Regions from separate parts of the Homo sapiens genome. Here region 1 is linked to region 2. Evidence: promoter capture Hi-C in human tissues and cell types (Jung and others, 2019). All regions are on one chromosome and are shown on one strand. Each heading gives the region's core, a stretch centred on a gene start or on the middle of the fragment in contact. The rest is flanking DNA. Distances are from core to core; before and after follow the strand shown. Region 1 overlaps RNF220 (ring finger protein 220). Region 2 holds the start of ERI3 (ERI1 exoribonuclease family member 3).

Region 1 (5,208 bases), core at 448-2,947, 160 kb before region 2:
ACACAAAGGGAAAATAAAAGGGAAGTGACTCAAATTAAATAGTAGGTCTGAAGAGCTTTGACTCAGCATGATACCTGGAATAGAGCAGGCATCCTATAAATGTTGGGACAAATAAATGGTTCTGAAACCCCAAATGCCTCAGTTTTTCTTTAAGAACCTGTATTCTCACCACAAGCAATGACTTCTTCATTCCTAGAGCATGCCAATCCTGTGGATCATTTACAACTTTATCTGCTATTACTGTACCTAACACAATAATCACCACACAAACTACACCTACATTATTCAAGAACCATCTACTCAATTGTGTTGACCTCAGTTAATCTCAGCAACTGCCACAGCTCTAAGAGCCCCATTTCCATTTGATTCTATACCCTGCTACCCTTCTCCCGTCCCCAGTGACATCCACCCCGTGTTCTGGATTCCCCTAGTGGTCTTGAAACCTCCTGGTTTGTCTGGGCTGAGATTTTCTTCAAACATTGAGGCAAAATGGGAAGGGAATAGACTGTTGGCTTGGTCCCTGCTGCTGATAGCTATACATTTCCATTCAACACCAGCCTCCTGGACTTGCCTTTCAGAACTTATTTCCAGCCTTCATAGCCACTCCCTGGAACAGTCTTGCTAGGTCTTCCCTTTCTGTGTTTGTTCCCCCATGACTGACCCATTTTCAAGGACTGGTCCTTGTTCAGCCCAGCTCCTACCCCTTTGCTTCTTGACTTTAAACTCTACCTGCCCTGCTGGACGTGCCAATCTTTGCATCTGGAGCATGAGAGGTTACTGTAGAGGTTATGCACACAACTAGTAAAGCATGAACTTCAGAACCTCTAAAGCCACTCCCCAATCTGTGGTTCTGTGACTCGGGTACTTCCCTTGAGCTCATGTGAATAAAACATTCAATTTTGTTTCATTTATGGGTCTTGTTATCATGTTAGCCAAAAGATATATCTTTTTTAAAAAAATCTAAAAAGTAGCCCAATAGCTGGCTAGTTCTTAGCTTAGTCCATAGAGAACACCTAAATCCCAAGTAAAACAGGGAGCAGCAGGACATTCTGCAGGCCGGAAGAGGAGATCGTTTCAACACTAGCATGGTCATCAGCATTAAAGAGTCAGTTGGGGTTTGACTGTAGAGCTTCTAGTGAAGCTCACAATGGAGGAAGCCTAAACCATTCTGAACCAGGGACGAATGCCTAATATTCTAGCTTCACTGCAACCCCTGAAGTCTTCCTCTCAGGCTACATTTCCAACAGGCAATGAAGAATCAATTATCTGAATATTCTAGTATTGTCTAGTTAGACGAAAGTCTGATTGATCAGCATTTTCTACTCAGGAAGGCACGGGCTTCCAACATCGCAGCTGTCCCTCCATAATTCCATTATTTTAGGCCGCTCATTTAACAAATCCTGCAAGCCTGCTACGTGGGAGGCACTGTGCTAGGTGCTGAGATTATGGCACTTAACAAGAGAAACAGGGTCCTGCACTCAAAGAGCTCACAGTTTGGAGTGGGAGTTAGACACTAAACAAATATAGCTACTTGATCTATTACTTGGTTATATTTAGGACTAAGCGATACAAGGATAAATACAAGATGCTACACGACTATATATTGAATCCAAACAAGGTCTGCTGTGGTGATACTATGAAGGGTGGCCTGATCTATTACTCGAATGGTTCTTTTCTCCCTTCTTCTCTTAGGCTCTTTCTGCTTCCTGAAGGGAAACTTCCAAAGCTAACAAACGCCTCTATTCCAGGAAGAGCGGAAGTAGAAGACATTGGCGATGTGGCATAAGATGCCCATATACCTGGGGAGACAGCTGCACGGGCATGTGTGCACACACGCACACAGACACACGCGCACACATGCAGAGGATGACCCATGAAACATGCCCTGGGGGGAAGAAGAGGAAGAAAAAAAATGAAATCCAAACAGTCTTTTTCACCCCGAAAACATATAATTTTGTGTAAATTTTTACTTTAAACATCTCTCTTTTCCTGAGCTGTGATATGGGCCCTGTCAAAGCCAGGGCCAATTACTGCCATTAGGTTCCCATCATGTCACCGCTTCTCCCCCCGTCTGGAAGGCCCTCGCCTCACAGGCCTATAATCTGCACTCACTTTCGCTCCATCACTTTCAGAAGGAACAAAATTGTTTTGTGTGTTTTTTTTTAAAAGGGCCTTTATTTGGCCCCTGTCAACTCTGAAAAGAAGAGAGTGAAAGAGAGAGAGGAGGAGAGAGAAAAGAGGAGAAAGAAAGATTGTTTAAGTGTTTAACCATGAGATTGCCAACAGCAAGCATGCGGGAGGCAGCCTGGCTGGCCCCCATGGGCCAGGCTCGGGACCCCAGGGACGCCACACCCTGGGCCTTGCCACTTGCTTCCCCTTTTGGGTAAGTTATTTCCATTCCCAGAAGAGCTCCTCGCACAGGTTCTGATCTCATAGCCTTGGAATAATCTATCTGAAGATATCATCAAAGAACAGGCAGGTTCTGAATTGCCAAACCAGCTACTGCGAATGTCTATCACAGGCCAGAAAGTGGGGGAACCTTTCTGGACTCCAAATCCCTTAAGGGATTGGCTGCAGTGGGGGCAGAGAGTCAGAGAAGACCCTTGGGAATGCTGAGGATGCTGCTAGCAAAAGGCAAAATGAAAGCTGGTCTGTTGGGACAGTGCCTGGACCATTGGGTGGGTTGGCTTGGTCCCTCCCTTGGCTCAGCCGGGATGTTCCTAATCCTTGCTCTCTCTTCCTCAGGTCAACTGGCTGCTCCAGGAGCCACCGAGCTCACTGTTGGGAAACTCGCTGCCGAAGGGTGAGGCCCCTGTGCCACCTGAGACAGCCGCTCTTCTTCCACCGTAGTTACACCTTCCTGAAATCTGCAGACGGTTATCACACCCCTCCGCTTGGCCAGGCTGCCCAGCATGCCTCTCCACTCCTGCCGCCTCCGTCGTCACTTAGCCAAGCTAAACAGATTTAGCTCCTTTAATCTTTCCTCATTAGCTGGCAATCTGGAAAGGAAACAAATGCTCACCCCATACAGGTTCAAGCTGTTGCTTTAACCTTGTAAAAGTGTGTAGGGCGCTGGGGCTGTGGAGTCAGTTAGGATCATTACCATGAGGAGCCACTCCCTCTCAGCTAACCCCCTTAGGGGCCGTCCCCATTCTTTTTGAAACCACCCCAGTGTGTCACCTCCCTTCTAGGTCCCAGAGCTCCACATCCAAATTGTGTGCATGCAACCCCCAAAGCAAGGCAGCTTCCAGGGCCTTCCTATGGCTTTTTTGGATGAGCAGAGATTTCCTCCCAAATATGTTCATTTGTTTCAACCCACCGCCTCCCCCCATAATTAGGTGTTCATGTGGTTGTTGACTTCTTCAGGTTCCTGAATTGTTCCTCAGCCACACCTACCTATCAGCTTTTTCAGTTACATGCAGCTTTCTCCCCATCCAAAATGAGACCTTATGTTAAATTGGTTCAGAATACTCTGTTCATCCAGAGAGTGTCCCTCTCTCTGAATGATTCCCTGCCATCGATTTTTCTTTTCTGTGCAGTTTTCATTTACATACCTACAACCACAGCGAAAACCTGAACCTGTTTTAACAACAGCCACTTGTGGCACACCCATTACAACACATCTGTTTTTCTGTTTTCAATTTGATCACTTAGCGCTATTCTGTTTGGTGTGGTTTGGCCCTTAGGCATACTTACACACACACACACACACACACACACACACACGCACACACACGCTTCTCAATTTTACTTTCCTCCCGGAGATGACAGATTTTTTCCCCCTTTCATTGTATCTAGTTCCAAACTGACTGGATGAACATTTTTAGGCTTGTTTACCATTTTTTAGAAGACAGGAGTCACATCCGTTTCACTTCTCCAGCCTCCTGATGGCCCCTTTTACTTTCTATGATTTTCCAGACATAATTATAAGTGGTTCAATCAGCGCCCCGCTTAGTATGTTCCCAGAACACTAGCCTTAATATCTCATGATGGATGTCATCCTGGCTTGCTGATTTGTGAAACCTTTACATTTTCTGAGTATTCTCCTACCTGCTTTCTATCAGGAACGATTTTTGCACAGTCTGCATTTACTTCCTAATTATCCAAATTCCTTTTTGTCATTTTTCTTCTTAAAGACTGATCTAAAAAATGAGCTGAGCATCTCTGCCCTGTAGGAGGTAAGATGAATCTCCCACTTCTCTTCATTTATTAGCAGTCTACATGCTCACTGGTCTGTCCCCCACCTTTCCTTTCCCCTCACCCTCAATATATTGCTAAACATATTTATTCCCTTTAACCCTTCGCTAGTGAAAGTTTCTCTCTAGGGTTCAACTTCTTGCCCGCAGGCCCGGGGATCTCTCTTCTGGTGGCTCCTGTAGCCAATCCCTTTATCTTGTAGAAAACTATGGTGACCTCACCCAAAGCTATTCCAGCAGGCAAAGCCTTTTCTTTTCCCTTATTCTTTATCAGAATTGGCTGTAGTCTTTAGTGTTCTCCCTCTAGCCTTCTCTTCCTCAGGGCTCCAAAAATGGACTGGCACCTTTGAAAAATAAGGAGAAAGCTGAAGTGGGCTGCATGCTTCCTTGCCTCACCAAAAGGTCCTCAAACATCACTCCCCGTCATCCCCCCACTGCGAGAGTGTTCTCTGCACCATTCAGGCCAACTGGCCTCCATTTTGGGGGCCTAAAGAAATTTCCTAGACCTCGGAGCAACAACCCTTTCTCACCTTTACCTCTGGGAAATCTTGGTTTTCATTTTGCTCATTTTCTCTGTGAGTTACTACCTTTCCCTTTTCTCCTTTCATTCATTCATTGACCGTATTAAGCCCCTTAGTGCCTCCCAGAAGCACTGGGAATAGAGTAGTGAACAAAATAGCAGGACACCTGTGCTCACAGTGCGTAACGACTGGTAGGGGAGACATGGTAACTACTGCCCCACCTCATCGTGCCACTAGAAACCATGATACGTTACATCCCGGAAGGACAGAATGCTATGAGAAAGTGTAACCGGAAGACAAAATGTACATTGGGACAGAAAGGCTTCTTTGAGCAGTAAAATTCACTGAGACAGGAAGGAGGGGTAAGAGTCAGGGAGGGTGATGTTAATGTCCTGAAAAGCAAAGCCTGCGTATTAGACAAACTGAAGGAAAAGCAGTTTGGCTGAACTTAGCCCAGGAAGAGGAGAGTGCCCCAAGCTGAGGCTAGAGAG
Region 2 (4,945 bases), core at 813-3,312:
GCTTGAGAAAGCCAAGTGCTGTGTTAGGCGGCAGTGTAAGATACCAAGTGTATACTGAGCTGTTAAACTGTTCTATTATTTGAATCAATTTGCCTGGTCTTTGTACAAAAAGAACTTACAGTGTGGTGAAGTCCTGGAAGCTGTACAGTTGAGCCCTAGTGCACCAAGGAGGAAAGAACACATTCTGGGGAAGTCAAGGGGACCATGGAAGGCTCCACAGAGGATGTTGGGGCTGGGCATTACATAAAGCCTTGAATCCAGATACTATAGATTTACTTCATTCTTACAGCCAAGAAGATTGGCTGTGCCCTACTCTCAGGCCATAACTCAGTATATAACAAAGCTATCTCACTGCCTCTTGTCTTATTTTTATATTTACTTGTTTTATTATCTATTCTTCCTCCTACAGCCCCTCCCCAATTTATTTATTATGGCTCACTGCAGCTTTGTCCTCCCAGGCTCCAGTGATCCTCCCACCTCAGCCTCCTGAGTACCTGGGACTACAAGCACGTGCCACCATGCCTGCCTAATTTTTAACTTGTTTGTAGAGATGAGAATCTCATTATGTTGCCCAAGCTGGTCTTGAACTCCTGGTCTCAAAGGATCCTCCTGCCTCAGACTCCCAAAGTGTTAGAATTACAGACGTGAGCCACGACACCCAGCTTCCCTCTCCAATTTAAAAGCTCCTTGAGAATAGAGGTGTGTCGTTATTCATCAATGAATCCTCAGCAACAGAAACAGTGCCTGACACTTAAGAGAGGCACTATAAATACAGATGGACTGACTGACCAACTGGGGTTAATGTGTAGGTAATAATAGGAGAATCTGTTCCAGCTCCAAGAGTTGGGGGATAGTGCCTCCACTTTACTGACCTCGGGATAAGTCTGTCCCTGCTGCTGGATATTCCCTCATTTGTTCGCAGACATTTATTGCGGGCCTTCTTTATACCTGCCCTATGCGGTGTATTACTGATACAACATGAACAATATGGAAAAAATGCTTTTCCTAAAGGACTTAAAACCCTGTGGGAGCGACAACAAGGAAACAGACAATTATAAGACAATATGATAAATGCTATAGGTCCACAGCAGAATCACCTAACCTATGACGTGGGTGGGATTAAGGAAGGCATTCCCTGATATGGGGATTACCAGGCACTCTCAGCTCAGGTGGAAACCGTTATGGTAAGGTCCGCTCTCAGAGGTGGTAGGGCCCAGAAATGACATCATCCTAAGTGTAAGTATGCAGACAGCACACAGAGGGGCTTGGTAACTGAAGCTGGGCCCAGAGGATGGGGTCCTGACCGATTGGGAAGCTGTCAAAGCCATCATTCCCAGCTCATAACCTGGGACCCATGACTACCCAGAAAGGCATAACCAGGATGAAGAAACACAGGTCTCTCCAGCTTACTGGAGAGACTGACTGGGGAAGCTCCTCACAGCTGAGGCCAGAAACCTTTTAAACAGAAGTTTCCTCTGAGTGGACCTGAACAAGCCAGTTCCCTCTTCCTTAGGACGGCCCTTCACAAATCTAAGCATTTTCCTCTTAGCTTAATCCCTCCTTGTCTCAGGTCTCCCCCAGGCCCACATCCGAAAGTAGATGACAATAATTACTTGTTGAATGAACGAATCATGAGGAGTCATGTAAATAGAATTCTGTCACGTTGTGAGCCCACATTCACCTTACGGGTATATTGGAGGGCGGGAAAACGGAGATGGGGGGCTCCACTAATGTGTGTCTGTGATCCTGGTTAGATCGCTGTAGGCCATAGAAAGTTTCATTTTAAAAAAATTCCTTTCACAGATCAGAAGTGATGTCCCCGTCCCCGTCTTCTCTTCTGAGTTTGTGCAACGTCAAAACTACAAGTCCCATAAGGCCGGCGGCCGGGAGTCACCATCTTGACATACCTTAGCGCGCATGTCGGCGGGAGAGCGAGCGTTTGGGGAGAAGAAGCCCCGCCTGACTGCAGCCCATTGGTCAAAGGGGTCGGCAGCGGGCTCAGCGGTTGGCCACAGCGCCCGCCCGTCCGCCGCGTCGGTCGGGGTCAGAGTGCGCGGAGGTGAGTCGGTGTGTTGTGGACTCGTGGTGCTGGCTGCCGCTGTTCAGGCGGCCGGGAACGGGCGGTGGGGAGCGGGCGGAGCTGGCCCTGCCTCTGCCTGGCCGGCGCCGCAGTCGGCGCGGGCCGCGCCCGCCGCCGCCAACTGCCCTGAGCGCTTGCTGAGGCCGAGGGAGACGTCGGGGCCTGCACCTGGAGGGAGCCTGCCGCGCTGGCCCCGAGGAGGGGGCGTTGCCATGGCGACAGCCTCTCCCGCTGCTGACGGGGGGCGGGGGCGGCCCTGGGAAGGAGGGCTGGTCTCCTGGCCCCCCGCCCCTCCCCTTACTCTCCCCTGGACTTGGATGGGCCCGAGTTGGGGGCAACACCCCGGGGTGGGTGATGCTGAATGGCCCCGCCAAGATTGGGCCCTGGTTAATGCATGCGGGGTGAGGGTCGCGGTGCGCAGAATTTATGCAACCTGGGGTGCTGGCCCATGTGCTTACCCTGGATGCTTACTTAATCTACTGAGTAATGTTCTGGCGGAGGGGGAGCGGGGCAGAGCTTTGCAAGACAGGATGGGTGAGTTTATTAAGGGGGTTGACTTACTGGGATTACTAGAGAAGAAAAAGGTTTGACTAGAGAGGCTAGAAATGGAGCATGGAGATTGTGGGTAGAACATTCCCTTGACCCTCTCGCCAACACATGCCCACACACCAGGTTAGCAGTTTACCTCTTTGTAAATCTGAAGCGGTGGTAGTAGTGATGGTGGAAGGAGTGAATAAGGGCCTAACCTGGCTAGCTTTCTGTTTGCCTGTCTTGCAAATGGTCCAGCAACAGGTGTTTTCTTAAAAAAAGCATGAACTTGGATTGAGGCTTGACTGCGAGTTCTTGCAAAATATAACTGCTCCTTGTTGACTTGGAAGATGCTGGATGTGGGGCCCCTCAATGGGGGTTTGGATTTTGTCCTTAGAGCTGGATTTTGCAACAAATAGTGCCCATCGTTGTGTCTGCGAGAGGTCTCTGGCCACTTCAATGGCATTTACTCTTGTCAGACATTTAATCAGTCTCCCAGCGGAAGGGCAGCAAAACATGAATCCTATTGGCTAAAAGAGTGTACGCTATTCAAACTATAGTAGGTTGTGAGTGGCTAAATGAGTTTTGATTGTAGAGTTTCTTCCAGAAATTGGCTTCATCAAATTCTGCTTTATTCTGACTTTATCATATACAGCATGCCTTGTTTTAGTGGGTTCTTGCTTGGAGCTTAGTTTATTATACCTGAATCTCCTACCATTTAAAAGCCAATTTATAAACAGGGACTTGGAGTGTGACTCCACTAATGTGTGTCTGTGATCCTGGTTAGAAACCCACTTGGCTGCCTTTTCCTCAGGAGGTGGGGGTTGGGGGAAGGGAGCTGCCGGGAAGTGATTGATAAGGTTTCCTTTATAGATTCTGTGGTGCTTCACTGGAGCTCAGAGCACTTTGGCAACTTAAGCACTCCAAATTAAAAGCTCATTAACAATTCCTGCCCAAAGATCCTGTAAATAATCAGCTAGCTAGGTCATAGAGCTTGGCTAAGAGCTTTTCTTCCAACTTGAAATTTCCAAATAAAAGTGCTTTTATTCCCTTTCATTTTAAAAAGTGTTTTCTTTGTGGTGGGGTAAATTGGTGAGTGGCCTTTTCCCAGGGGATCTGAGTAGAAGAAAGTCTTAAATGTGTGGAATGGTAGACAGGAATATATTAGTTCCAACCCTAGGTGTTTCTTTATGCAAAAGACATCACTAACAGGGGCATCTCTGCAACTTCTGGTCCTTTGGAGGATATGAATTAGTTGAAAAGGATGATAGGTATCTATTGATGTTTTGACTTGGGATTTAGTTACCTTGACTTTCTTAGAGCTTGAAGCAGGCTTGGAACTATCCTGAAAGTGTTTCCTAGTCTATGTGGCCATTTTCAGTATGGCTTGTGGATTTGTGGCAACCAACCCCTACCCCAGTCCTGGCCCAGCCTTAGTTCCTTAGTTCTGAATATTGTCAGCCTTACCAGTGTCTTCCTCCTTGACTAGACTAGGATTCTGAAACTACCCAGAGGCACCACTTCATAGCTATCTTTCTCGGTAAATGTTTAGTGTTTCTAGGAGGTGAGCCTCCTTAGGAGCAAAAGTATATGACTAGAGAACATGAAAATCATTACAAATGTAGTACTAATAGTTTCTGAAAGCTCTGTGGGGGCACTGTCTTTGCACATAGATAGCAGTTATCCCGAAGTTTGAGTTTAGAGTTTGAGGTGTAGTATCCTTCATGGGGATTTGATCCTTGGTATTGAAATAGACTTGTTGCAGAGATGTGTATTTATCCACAGCATTGGGGCTTTCCAGCTCTCACAGAACCTTCAGCATCCCCAGCTGCCGGTCTTGGCATCTTCGAAGTAAGGAGAGGTGAGAATCCTGTTGCATGGTCAAGTCTGGCTTTATTTTCTTCTGAGTATTTGGGCTTGGAGGGTAGGGGGTGGGGGCTGATGCAGATTGTATTTTTTTTCCCATGTATCCCCAAAGTCTAAACGAATCATATTTTTTTGTAGCTTCTTCTGATAAAGTAACATATGCTCAAAGTCTGTAGAAACTTACTTAAAGTTTCTAAAGTGGTAAGAGTTGGAGGTGGGAGATCCAGACTGTCAAGTTCTGTCACAACTGCTTTATGGGCATCTCATGAGCACCTACTTTAGGTTCAGGATGGTTGAATAGAACCAGAATAGCCCATTATCCTGAGAAATACACATCTTAAGAAAATAGGAAGAAACATCTTCATTTGGCTTTAAACATTTATCTATCTATCTATCTATCTATCTATCTATCTATCTATCTATCTATCTATCTATCTATGAGACCTTGCTAGGTTGCCCATGCTGGGCTCG

The links. The method cuts DNA at HindIII sites, captures the fragments that hold promoters and counts their contacts. A contact is called where the count stands out against the background at its distance.
Region 1: a contact is called between a fragment that was not itself captured here and the fragment with the promoter of ERI3 in region 2, in 1 of the 25 tissues and cell types used here (thymus).

What each region holds. Positions count from the first base shown.
Region 1 is chr1:44,510,435-44,515,642 of GRCh38, reverse strand. The region is part of intron 2 of RNF220 (ring finger protein 220); the gene reads right to left. Among named protein-coding and RNA genes, the nearest start is that of MIR5584, 32 kb to the left of the region's middle. The HindIII fragment of the contact is 7,769 bases long and covers 1-5,208 here.
Region 2 is chr1:44,352,374-44,357,318 of GRCh38, reverse strand. ERI3 (ERI1 exoribonuclease family member 3) reads left to right here and starts at 2,062. Exons shown (of 9, transcript NM_024066.3): 1 at 2,062-2,427; 2 at 4,394-4,469. The coding sequence starts at 2,293. RefSeq lists enhancers at 1,778-1,827, 1,728-2,228 and a silencer at 2,098-2,327. The HindIII fragment of the contact is 16,235 bases long and covers 1-4,945 here.